Regions from separate parts of the Homo sapiens genome. Here region 2 is linked to region 1. Evidence: promoter capture Hi-C in 16 types of primary human blood cells and fetal thymus (Javierre and others, 2016). All regions are on one chromosome and are shown on one strand. Each heading gives the region's core, a stretch centred on a gene start or on the middle of the fragment in contact. The rest is flanking DNA. Distances are from core to core; before and after follow the strand shown.

Evidence for each region. The method cuts DNA at HindIII sites, captures the fragments that hold promoters and counts their contacts. A CHiCAGO score of 5 or more calls a contact.
Region 2: a contact is called between a fragment that was not itself captured here and the fragment with the promoter of GLB1L in region 1, in 2 of 17 cell types (M1 macrophages and M2 macrophages). The highest score is 6.3, in M1 macrophages.

The regions. Positions count from the first base shown.
Region 1 is chr2:219,243,180-219,249,174 of GRCh38, forward strand. GLB1L (galactosidase beta 1 like) reads right to left here and starts at 2,265. Exons shown (of 17, transcript NM_001286423.2): 1 at 2,050-2,265; 2 at 323-464; 3 at 1-135. The coding sequence starts at 394. It overlaps STK16 (serine/threonine kinase 16), which reads left to right and starts at 2,300. Exons shown (of 8, transcript NM_001330213.2): 1 at 2,300-2,617; 2 at 2,717-2,906; 3 at 3,478-3,697; 4 at 3,934-4,067; 5 at 4,236-4,356; 6 at 4,483-4,578; 7 at 5,014-5,135; 8 at 5,242-5,995. The coding sequence starts at 2,821. The coding sequence ends at 5,380. RefSeq lists enhancers at 1,981-2,563, 2,012-2,441. The HindIII fragment of the contact is 6,920 bases long and covers 1-5,995 here.
Region 2 is chr2:219,345,361-219,350,862 of GRCh38, forward strand. It overlaps LOC107985835 (a long non-coding RNA gene), which reads right to left. Exons shown (of 3, transcript XR_001739232.1): 3 at 5,307-5,457. Among named protein-coding and RNA genes, the nearest start is that of RESP18, 15 kb to the left of the region's middle. The HindIII fragment of the contact is 5,757 bases long and covers 1-5,390 here.

The DNA.
Region 1 (5,995 bases), core at 1,015-3,514:
CTTCAAAAGCCGGTCGGCCCAAAGCACCCGCGGTACCCGAAAGTAGTGCAGGCTGCCAGACACATAGCGGAACGGGGCCCCGTCTAGGAGAAACCGGTCATGACCCCTATCCACTACGAACGACCGAGTGTCTGCCTATAAAGAGAAAGAGACGCTGCTCAGCAGACGCCTGGAGGGAGCGTCGAGGGTCAGCGCCTGCCAAGAGCGGAAGAGATGGAACTAGCCCTGCGGGTTGTTTGGTTGTTACTTTGGACTTTCTCTCATCCGCTGGATCTGATCCCGCTCACCGCACCCGGCAGGCTGGTTCACCGTCTCATCTTACCTGGGGCAGCAGTAGCGTCAGGCTGAGCGGCAGCAGCAGGGAACGAAGGCAGGACAGCTTCTTGGGAGCCATGGCGTTTACAGCGCTCCTCTAGTCTGAGACGGCGGACAGACCGTCACGTGTCGGATTCCTGGGAGGGAACCTCAGCGAGCAAGGGGGCGGAAACCACCTCAAGTTGCCAGGCGTTTAGCCTGGACTTCCTCTCCAGCCTGCAGCCACCCCCTTACTCTACTAGTTTGTAAAATTTCTACATCATGTTAAAGTGCAGTTCACGAACCAGCTTCATCGACATCACCTGGGAACTTGTTAGAAATGGAGAATCTGGCTGGGCACGATGGCTCACGCCTGTAATCCCAACACTTTGGGAGGCCGAGGCGGGTGGATCACTTGAGGTCAGGAGTTCAAGACCAGCTTGGCCAACAGGGCAAAACCCTGTCTCTACTAAAAATACAAAAATTAGCCGGGCCTGGTGGCACGCGCCTGTATTCCAAGCTACTCCGAGGGTGGGGGTGGGGGTGGGGGTGGGGGTGGGGGTAGGGGCTGAGGCAGGAGAATTGCTTGAACCCGGAAGGCGGAGGTTGCAGTGAACCGAGATCCTGCCACTGCACTCCAGCCTGGGCAACAGAGCGAGACTCTGTCTCAAAAAACACAAACAAACAAACAAAAGAAATGTAAAATCTCAGATCCTACCTCAGACCTATAGAATCAGAATTTGTATTTTAACAAGATTCCCAGGTGATCCTAGGCACCTTCAAAATTGAGAAGCATGGCTTTACTTGACTGGGCTCCCTGAGGACAGGGAGTGCCCTGTTCATCTCAAATCCTCAGCCTCTAGCACAGGGCCGGGTATATAGTAGGTTAAATCTGGATGAATCAATGTCATAACCAAAAGGCTAAAACAGGTTCAGAACCAGGGGAAACCATTGGAAAATCTTCAGGGTGATCCGGGGTGTGGAAGGGAGGAACCAGGTCACAAGAAGGACCTCTTTCCTGGAGAGTCCTGTTTCAGCAAAACAGCCATTCCCTCCTGGCCATTCCACCTTCTTTGGAAGTGCACCCCTCTCCAGCTTACCCCTGCCTGCCTCCGCAACAGATATTAAGGACAACTGCTTTGTGCCAAAGCTCGAAAATCTGTGAATTTCCGTTCCTTTTGCCTTTACAGTCTCAAGAATGGGATGTGAAGATCAGGGTAATAATAATTACGGTTTATTGACACGTACTGAAGGCTATGTGTCAGATATTGTATTAAACACTGTACATCTCATTTAATCTTCAACTCCATGAGGTAGATAATTATTTCCATTTTACAGAGGAGGAGAGGAAAGGACAGAAACATTAAGTAGCCTGTCCAAGGTCACACAACTACGTTAACGGAGCTGTCATTTGAACTAGTCAGTCTGGCCTCACAGTTAAGCTACTTAACCTTATGTACTATTATACCTATTTTACAGCTACCAAAAGTAAGGATCCGAGAGGTTAAGTAACTTGCCCGAGGTTACACAGCTAGCATGCTATTAACACTCAATTTAGAAACTGGAAGTCTGGTTCACAAGCCTGAGCTCTTAACCACTGAGACTAGGGGTAGTGGGATACAGGCCAGAGCCCAGAAGGTTGTACGGGATCAGGAGACCAGGCCACCAGACCCGCCCCTCACTGGATCCCCCTCCAGGCTGCAGTGTAGTTGGCCGCTTTCTGCCCCAGAGCGCCAGAGGTATGAAGCCTCCTACCTCCAACATTGGGAGATGGAGGTCCTGGGGGCCTCGGGCCGAGCCCGGCTTTGCTCCCCTTTGGCGTAGGTGCCTGCGTCTTGACCCCCACCGAAGGCCAAGTAGAGAACCCTCACCAGGGTCCTGGGACCCGTCCACCCCTACACCTAGCTAGCCCGGAGCCTCTCAGCTCCGCGTCCCCACATCCTCCGGATGCCCAGCGGTTGCTGAGATACCGCGGGCCGTTACGCCGGCGCGGACTGATGATGTCAGCACTGCTTCCGGTCGGTGGCGCTTCTCTCTGGCCCGAGCCAGGTCAGTCCGGCAGTGCAGATGGCCCATCCCGGGCTCTGGGCTCCTAGACCGGGGTGGGCCCTGCCAGGAGTGGGCCTGAGCCTCGCACGTCCTCTGAAACTACGCTATGCTCTGCTTTTGCGGCGCGATGGGCGTGGGAGCGGGGGCTGCCCAAAGATGGGCTGGGGTTGGAGGAAGTGGCCCGGTAGCCGCTGTGTGTCCTGAGGCCGTAAGGCGCCTGACCCCACCCCTGAAGCTGGCGACGGAGCAGGGCCTGTTTTCTCTACACTATAGTGTAGGTTCCAGAGACCTGGGCCTGAGCTCTCCGCATTGGTACTTCATGGGTCGTCTGGATTGTGCCGGACCTGTGACCCTGCCGTTGTTTTCTTTCCAGCATGATCCGCTGGGCCCCCAGCGCATCTCCTGGAAGAGCCCACTCACCCTGGACGAGCTCTTCGGTAGCCTCAGACCGTCCTTGAAGAGGATGACTGAGACATTATGGGCCACGCGCTGTGTGTCTGCTCTCGGGGAACTGTCATCATTGACAATAAGCGCTACCTCTTCATCCAGAAACTGGGGGAGGGGTGAGTGTTTGGAAGTCAGTTAACTAGTCCTCAAGTTTATGATCATTGAAGGACAGCGGTGTGCATATGCTTGGGGCACAAGGGTTTTATCCCTATCCCTGTCCTCTCTCACCTGACAGAACCTAGCTACACAGTATCAAGAAGGTGGATTCTGGAGCCAGGCCTGCTAAATCCACCTCGTGTGACCTTGATAAACCATGTTTTTTTCATCAGCTTAATGGAGATGATTATTATCCCTCACTGATGGAGTTGTGAGGATTAAATGAGATAATGTGTATAAAATGTCTCACCCAATGCGGGGTTGACAAGTACTTGATAAGTGTTGGCTATTATTTATTTAGCATCTGTCAAGTGCAGAGGTCTCTATTACGACCATAGGACCTCAAAGATTTCTATATCTCTGCTCCTGAGGAGCTCACGGTGTAATATTCTTCAGATTTCTCTTAGAGCCACATCTTGGGAAGGTTTCTGCTAAATGGGAAGGACACCCCACTCCCCACCAGGAAATTTCTCTAGGTCCAAGCCATGTGGGAGATGACCATGGCCCTTTATTGACCCCTTTGGCCCACAGTGGGTTCAGCTATGTGGACCTAGTGGAAGGGTTACATGATGGACACTTCTACGCCCTGAAGCGAATCCTGTGTCACGAGCAGCAGGACCGGGAGGAGGCCCAGCGAGAAGCCGACATGCATCGCCTCTTCAATCACCCCAACATCCTTCGCCTCGTGGCTTACTGTCTGAGGGAACGGGGTGCTAAGCATGAGGCCTGGCTGCTGCTACCATTCTTCAAGGTCAGAAAGACTCCTGGTTATGGAGGGGGTTGCAGCAGAGCCACCTACTCAAGGGCTGTGTGAGCAGTCCAGCATGTTAGGAAGCAGGGACCATGTCCTGGGTTTGGCCACTTTAGATTTTGAGTTTGAGGTGTGTATCATGAAAGGGCTGATAGGCTTTGACATAGGGAAGGGATCAGGCCTAAGGAGCAGAGGCTCCAAAAACATCTCCAACTGTAGGGAAACTTGTGTTGCAGAGAGGTACGCTGTGGAATGAGATAGAAAGGCTGAAGGACAAAGGCAACTTCCTGACCGAGGATCAAATCCTTTGGCTGCTGCTGGGGATCTGCAGAGGCCTTGAGGCCATTCATGCCAAGGGTTATGCCCACAGGTCAGTGGGAGGACCCTGTGTGCTTGCTGGGGCCCAGAGGAAGAGCCTCACCAGGAGACATGGGAGGTCTCTGTTCTCCCAAGAAACAGCCTGTATGATTCTTTTGCTTGCTGGGATTCCAGCCTTCCTGTCCAGAGATGCTCATAGGTCACTTCTACTTCTCTACAGAGACTTGAAGCCCACCAATATATTGCTTGGAGATGAGGGGCAGCCAGTTTTAATGGACTTGGGTTCCATGAATCAAGCATGCATCCATGTGGAGGGCTCCCGCCAGGCTCTGACCCTGCAGGTAAAAGAGTCTCCAGGTTCCTTTTCTCACCTGTTCCCCATTCCCACCCCTTCTGGTGCATGTCCCAGTTTGGTCACATGACCATGACCTGTGCCCCACTTTTGAGCTCTGGGATCACTGTTCCAGGACTGGGCAGCCCAGCGGTGCACCATCTCCTACCGAGCCCCAGAGCTCTTCTCTGTGCAGAGTCACTGTGTCATCGATGAGCGGACTGATGTCTGGGTGAGGAGCATGTGGGTGGGTATCTGGGTAGGGAGGGCTGTGGCTCTGTACCCACCGTGGAGTAGAGTAGGTTGTTGGTTTCTGTTGCATGGGGCGCCAGGAACCACAATATGTCCCCATCCACTTCAACTTCCTTCCTGGGAAATGTCACTGATACTGTACCCAGTTGTACCGGATGTGGTATAATCTGTGCCCCTGAACAAGGTGAGTACAGCTCAGTGTCAGTAGTGAAGGCACTGGCTAAGCAGGGGCTAAGCTAAACAGGGGCTGCGGAGGCCTCCAGCTGACTGGCAGTTTCTCTGGACCCTGGTGGTGCCATGTGGCTGAGGTCAGCGTATTCTTTTTAGCTTATGGAGTCTCCTTTTACCACAGAAGTAAAGGGAGAGATGTCACCTCCACTGGTCCCCTTCTAGGGACTAATCAAGTTATGCTCAGTCCCTAGGCTGCGTGCTATATGCCATGATGTTTGGGGAAGGCCCTTATGACATGGTGTTCCAAAAGGGTGACAGTGTGGCCCTTGCTGTGCAGAACCAACTCAGCATCCCACAAAGCCCCAGGTGAGTGAGCAACGAATAGGGCATCAAGTGTTTCAGACTCCCCCCTGGTATTAGCTGAGTTGACAGATAGGTGTCATCCGGTCACCCTGGGCTCCTCCCTCCACAGGCATTCTTCAGCATTGCGGCAGCTCCTGAACTCGATGATGACCGTGGACCCGCATCAGCGTCCTCACATTCCTCTCCTCCTCAGTCAGCTGGAGGCGCTTCAGCCCCCAGCTCCTGGCCAACATACTACCCAAATCTGAAAAAGCAGCATGTTGAGAAGATGGCCCCTTGTGCCTTGGAAAGAGGTTCCCATCCCTCATTGGAATCACCACCCATTCCATCCAGGACTTCTCTTACACTTGGGGGTAGCGGGGTCAGGACAATCATCTCAGTCCTGCATCTTTTCTTCTGCTTTCTTCCCTCCAAGAGCAAAACCTGGGCAAGGGGACTTACTGAGTGGGGGTGGGTGGGGGTTGGGAAAAGGGAAACTGGTGGGATATGGAACATGGCTCTGAGCAGGACTGTTGAGCTCACATAGTGTTCTGACTCCAAATCTGGGAGCAGGAGAATGTGTAAACAAGAATAAAGTGGAAGCAGGTTGGTGTAGATCTTAGTCTCAGTGTTCCTGGAGTGAGAGAAGAGGTGCAAGGGGCCCAAAGTCAGGTTGCCATTTCAGGCGAACTGCCTGGGAAGGAGGAATGGTGCAGAGTCGGCAATGGTGTGACTTCATTCTACAGGAGGTTGGTTAGCAGTGGACAGTTCTAGCTTGTCTTAGATCAAAACTTAAAGCTGCTTGGGCTCAAGCTGGCATCTGCCTGTGTCAAGAACTAGGGCCCCCTAAAAACACTCAACTAGTTCTTTCCTTCCTTCACTCC
Region 2 (5,502 bases), core at 1,262-3,761, 100 kb after region 1:
TTGACTTGGGCTATCCTTGACTAATCAGGGACAGAAGCTGGTCAATAAGCACTGCCCTCCCCTCAGTCTTAGGCAAAAAAATCACAGGCATATTCTCCTTGGCTCCTCAAGATTTGCCAGTGAGCTTGAATCTTAGTTGTCCACAGTGGTAAGTAGTTCAATTACACATGCTTAAATTGATTTTCCCTACTTTCCAGTTTTAATTTCTCACTCCCCCGACCAACACCTGTTCTTTAGGATCATAGCCAAAAATAAGGTACCTGCATTTAAGCCCAATTGTTGAACTCTTGGGGGAAGTTGGGGGCTAAACACAAACTAAGACAAGGTGTCTTCAGCAAGATTTGTTTAAATTATCAAGTCTACCATTGCCAGGAGCAGAAATCAAGTTTTCTGTTGTTCTTCTGTTTTTAATATTGGAGCTATTCCAGGATGTTTGTATGTTTATGGGAGGTGTCTAGAAATGAGGAGAAAATGATAAAGAAAAGAGAGGAGATAATTTCTTTCTTCTTCTTTTTTTTTTTTTTTGAGATACAGTCTCGCTGTGTTGCCCAGGCTGGAGTGCAATGGCACGATCTTAGCTCATTGCAACCCCCGCCTCCCAGGTTCAAGCAGTTCTCTTGCCTCAGCCTCCCAAGTAGCTGGGATTACAGGTGCCCGCCACCATGCCCGGCTAATTTTTGTATTTTTAGTAGAGACAGGGTTTCACCATGTTGGTCAGGCTGGTCTCAAACTCCTGACCTCAGGTGATCTACCCGCCTCGGCCTCCTAAAGTGCTGGGATTATAGGCGTGAGCCACTGCACCCGGCCAAGAGAGGAGAGAATTTCTAGAGTGATGATCCTGAATAGGCCTCTGGCTTGCCCCTCTCTCACTCCCCCGCCCCCTCCCCTCCTTTCCCCCTCCTTTCTCCTTTCTCCTTCTTCCCTTCCCTTCCTTTCTCTCTTTCTCTCTCTCTCTCTCTTTCTCTCTCTCTCTTTCTTTCTTTCTTCTTTTTACTTTTTCCCCCTAGAAATGGGGTCCTGCTCTGTCACCCAGGCTGGAGTGCAGTAGCATGATCATAGCTCACTATAACCTCGAACTCCTGGGCTTGAGGGATCCTCCCACCTCCGTCTCCCAAGTAGCTGGGACTACAGGCAGAGGCTACCACACCCGGCTATTTAAAAAATTTTTCGTATATATGGGGGTCTTACTATATTGTCTAGGCTGATCTTGAATGCCTGGCCTCAGGCAATCCTTCTACCTTGGCTTCCTGAGTCACTGGGATTACTGGCGTGAGCCACTGAGCCGGCCTCTGGCTTTAATTCTTAGGAGTAAACCAAATTTCTTTCTCAAATCCTTCCTCCTCCAGTCACCCCTTTTTCTGTAAGTAGCGTGATTATTTTCCCAGGCAATAGTTCTCTAAATTTAGGTGGCTTCTCTCTTTATCTCTTCACTGAAACCCAGATGCTAAGACCAGGTGGGTTGGGGAGACCCTAACCCAGTGGCGCTAGAGGAATTAAACACACACACACAGAAATATAGAGGTGTGAAGTGGGAAATCAGGGGTCTCACAGCCTTCAGAGCTGAGAGCCCCGAACAGAGATTTACCCACATATTTATTAACAGCAAACCAGTCATTAGCATTGTTTCTATAGATATTAAATTAACTAAAAGTATCTTTTATGGGAAATGAAGGGATGGGCTGAATTAAAGGAATAGGTTGGGCTGGTTAACTGCAGCAGGAGCATGTCCCTAAGGCACAGATCGTTCATGCTATTGCTTGTGGCTTAAGAATGCCTTTAAGTGGTTTTCCACCCCGGGCGGGCCAGGTGTTCCTTGCCCTCATTCCCATAAACCCACAACCTTCCAGCTTGGGCATTAGGGCCATTATGAACATGTTACAGTGCTGCAGAGATTTTGTTTATGGCCAGTTTTGGGGCCAGTTTATGGCCAGATTTTGGGGGGCCTGCTCCCAACACCCAGACAGTTGCCAAGGCCTCTCAACTCACTCTTCAGCACAACTCTCAAAGGTGTCTCCTTTCCATTTGCTCCATCTCTGCCCAATTTCAGGCCCTTAGAGCATATGTAAGTCATCATATCACTGTTCTAATTGGCTACCTCCTTTTCATATATTTCCCCCCCTCTCGCCTCCTGCATTCATCCTTCAAATATGTTATTTCTTTGACTACAAAATGTCAGTGCTCCCCATGGCCTCTTAAAAATGAGACCTAGGCCGGGCACAGTGGCTCACGCCTGTAATCCCAGCACTTTGGGAGGCCGAGGCGGGCGGATCACAAGGTCAGGAGATCGAGACCATCCTGGCTAACACAGTGAAACCCTGTCTCTACTAAATATATATATATATATAAAATTAGCCGGGCATGGTGGCGAGCATCTGTAGTCCCAGCTACTCAGGAGACTGAGGCAGGAGAATGGCGTGAACCCGGGAGGCGGAGCTTGCAGTGAGTCGAGATCGCGCCACTGCACTCCAGCCTGGGCGACAGAGCGAGACTCTGTCTCAAAAAAAAAAAAAAATAATGAGACCTAAATTATAAACTTGGCCCTCCATCATCAAGCCCAAACCTACTTTTCCAGACTTACCTCCAGCTGTTCCAGAATTACTCGTTCACCCACTAATCTTCCTGCTTTCCAACTTCTTTGTCTTGTATGCTATTGTCCATACTTTATCACCTCCTACTGAAATCCACCCCAGACCTCCAGGGCCAGCTCAAAAAGTTTCTTCCGTGCTGGGACCTTCCCATATCACCCAGTTGCATGTACAATCAAGGGTCACAGACTGTCAGAGTGGAGAGGTCCATTTGTAAGGACAGAATTCACCAATTTCATGGATGGCGCAGTACAGTCTTCCAGCTGTAGCTCTTTTTCTCCACTATATTTATTTAACTCTACTCCATAAATATGTGTTGAGTACCTGGGCTGTACCTAGGTACTATGCTAGGTACCCATGACACAGAGATGAGTCAGTCATATACAGTGACCCCAAGGAAAAGCAAGGTATACCTACTTACAAGGTATAAAGTTAAACATTGAGTTTGCATGGAGAAGAGTGTGATGAACTCGGGAGAAATGATTGGAAGGTCAGAGAAGGCACAATAGAAAAGGGGATATTAAGCTCATATTTTTAGGATAAGATGGATAAGGTGTGTTGGTGGGTACTTGGGGGTAGAGAGTACTGTGTGTATAAGGGCTGAGCAGTGTGAACTAGCAAGGCCCAATTTGAGAAACACGAGTGGGGGCTGAATTGCTGAAGCATCCACACAGGCAGAAAGGAGAATGCCTTTAAATGAGACAGGAGAGGCTGGCAGGAGACTGAGGGCCATGTGGACCATATAAGAAGCCTGGACTTTTTCCTGTGGGTTATAGCGTCGTTAAATAGCTCCAAGCTCATGGAAGCAAGGACTTTGTCTTGTTCACCACTATATCCCTAGTGCCTAGGACTGAGCCCAAAACATAATAGATCATCTTAGTTTGGATTCACCCAAAAGGAACCTTGAAAAGAGGATCGGGTGCAGGTGGTCTAGGTGGCAGGTCATCCCTGCAAGCACAAGTGAAGGAAGGGGAAAGTGAGAGAAGGAAAGGAGAAAAGCCAATACACAGAATGTTGGTGAGCAGGTTGTTGCTGTGGGCAATTGGGAATTGACCCTGCTGGGGATTCCCGAGGATCCCTGTGGAAGTTGTCTCAAATTTATCCCACCGAGGGGAGGATACATTGGAATATTTATCCAGTAACACAGCCTTTTTTTTTTTTTTTTTTTTTTTTTTGAGACAGAGTCTTGCTTTGTTGCCCAGGCTGGAGTGCAATGGCACGATCTTGGCTCACTGCATCCTCTGCCTCCCAGTTTCAAGAGATTCTCGTGCCTCAGCCTCCCAAGTAGCTGGGATTACAGGCTCCCACCACCATGTCCAGATAATTTTTGTAGTTTTAGAGATGGGGTTTCGCCATGTTGGCCAGGCTGGTCTTGAACTTCTGACCTCAGGTGATCCACCTGCCTCAGCCTCCCAAAGTGCTGAGATTACAGGCGTGAGCCACCACGCCCAGCTAACTCAGCCTTTAAAGTGTTGATGATTGCCCCTGAGGGTGTTAAGTCCCAGGCACTTCAGGGCTGTCTGGTGCACAGGTGTGCAAGTTCTCCTGGTGTTCCAGAAAACCCGCAGGACGAGAATCAGAGTGTTTCCAGGTTTCGAGGTGGGAAGCTGTCAGCACACAGACGTTGTCCACGTGCTTGCTGCAGGTAACCTCAGAGATGGGCCATTGGATATGAGGCAGGGCACCTGCCTGGTCTGCTGCACAGGTGTTCAATATCTGTTGCACAAGTACGTCGTATGTATGTCTTCCTTCCCTGCCTAGCCTTCAATTGCCTTGAGGCAGGAACTATGTATTGCAGAGGCCAGGCACAGTAAAGCACAAATCTTTACAAATGTGGGTTGCATAAAAGAAAGTAAAATGTTTGATGGGGAAAAGTAAAGTGGGTGGTAAGGGTCAACCTAGCTAATAAAAATAGGTATAAATAAATATGACTAGTTGAGCATCATATTTATCGATGTCCTTACAAGCAAAGCGGCAGGGGAGAGGACATATATTGGTGGCATCATTGAGCCTGTATACTAAAGGACTCTCTTGTAATTTCTCTGTATTCCATAGTGGAGGGGCTTGATATTTTCCCTTGTGCTCCCACTTATGAGGATTGAATGAGCTGACTACCCAATGAACACTGAAAATTAACAAAACAAAATAAATGAGCTGAGTGTGCAGGTGCTTTGAGAAACATAAAACTTGAAGCATGGGACCTGCTGGAGCTTGGTTGGGTTGAACATTGGTGGCTAGACTCCCCTTTCCCAGGGGAAAATTGACCATAGGTACCAAAAGTTAAATGTGCATAGCCTTTGGCTGTGGAATTGTTTGTGGATTCTTGGGGTGGGGCTGGTATGACTGCCGTTTAGGGGACCCTAATGCTGAACAGGTACCATGGACCTCTGAAGGCAGAGCAGGGCCCAGACCTGCTTGACCTGGGGTCTGGAGGGGGTGGATTTCCTTCTATCAGGGGAAAGAAGACCAGTAAGACACAACTGAAGGCTGCGTGGGGATGGCTGCCTTGCCACCCTGCCTTTCACCTGCTTTAGAAATGACCCATGGAAGGAAAAAGGCATCTGAAACAAGGCCTTCGGACAACCAGGGGCTGGCTGTCTGCACCCACTCCCCAGGCTTCCCTGCATTTGGCTCCCACCTCTCCCAGCTCTCACCTGGGAGGCTCTGGCTTGGTCCCCCGGCCACCAATTCTGCCTCCAGACAAGTCTGCTGAGTTTTTTTTGAAAATTGACTTTAATAATCCAGATTTGGTTCAGCCTGAAATTGTCCTTCCTGAGAGCATCAGGGGAAGTATGAGGAATGGGAAGCTTCCCATGTGGCCTTAATCAGCTACGAGGTTGTGACTCAGAGTAGGGAATGGCTCAAAGACGTCCTAAAATGGGAAGAAACAAGGGATTTTCAGTTAATGCACTCAGGC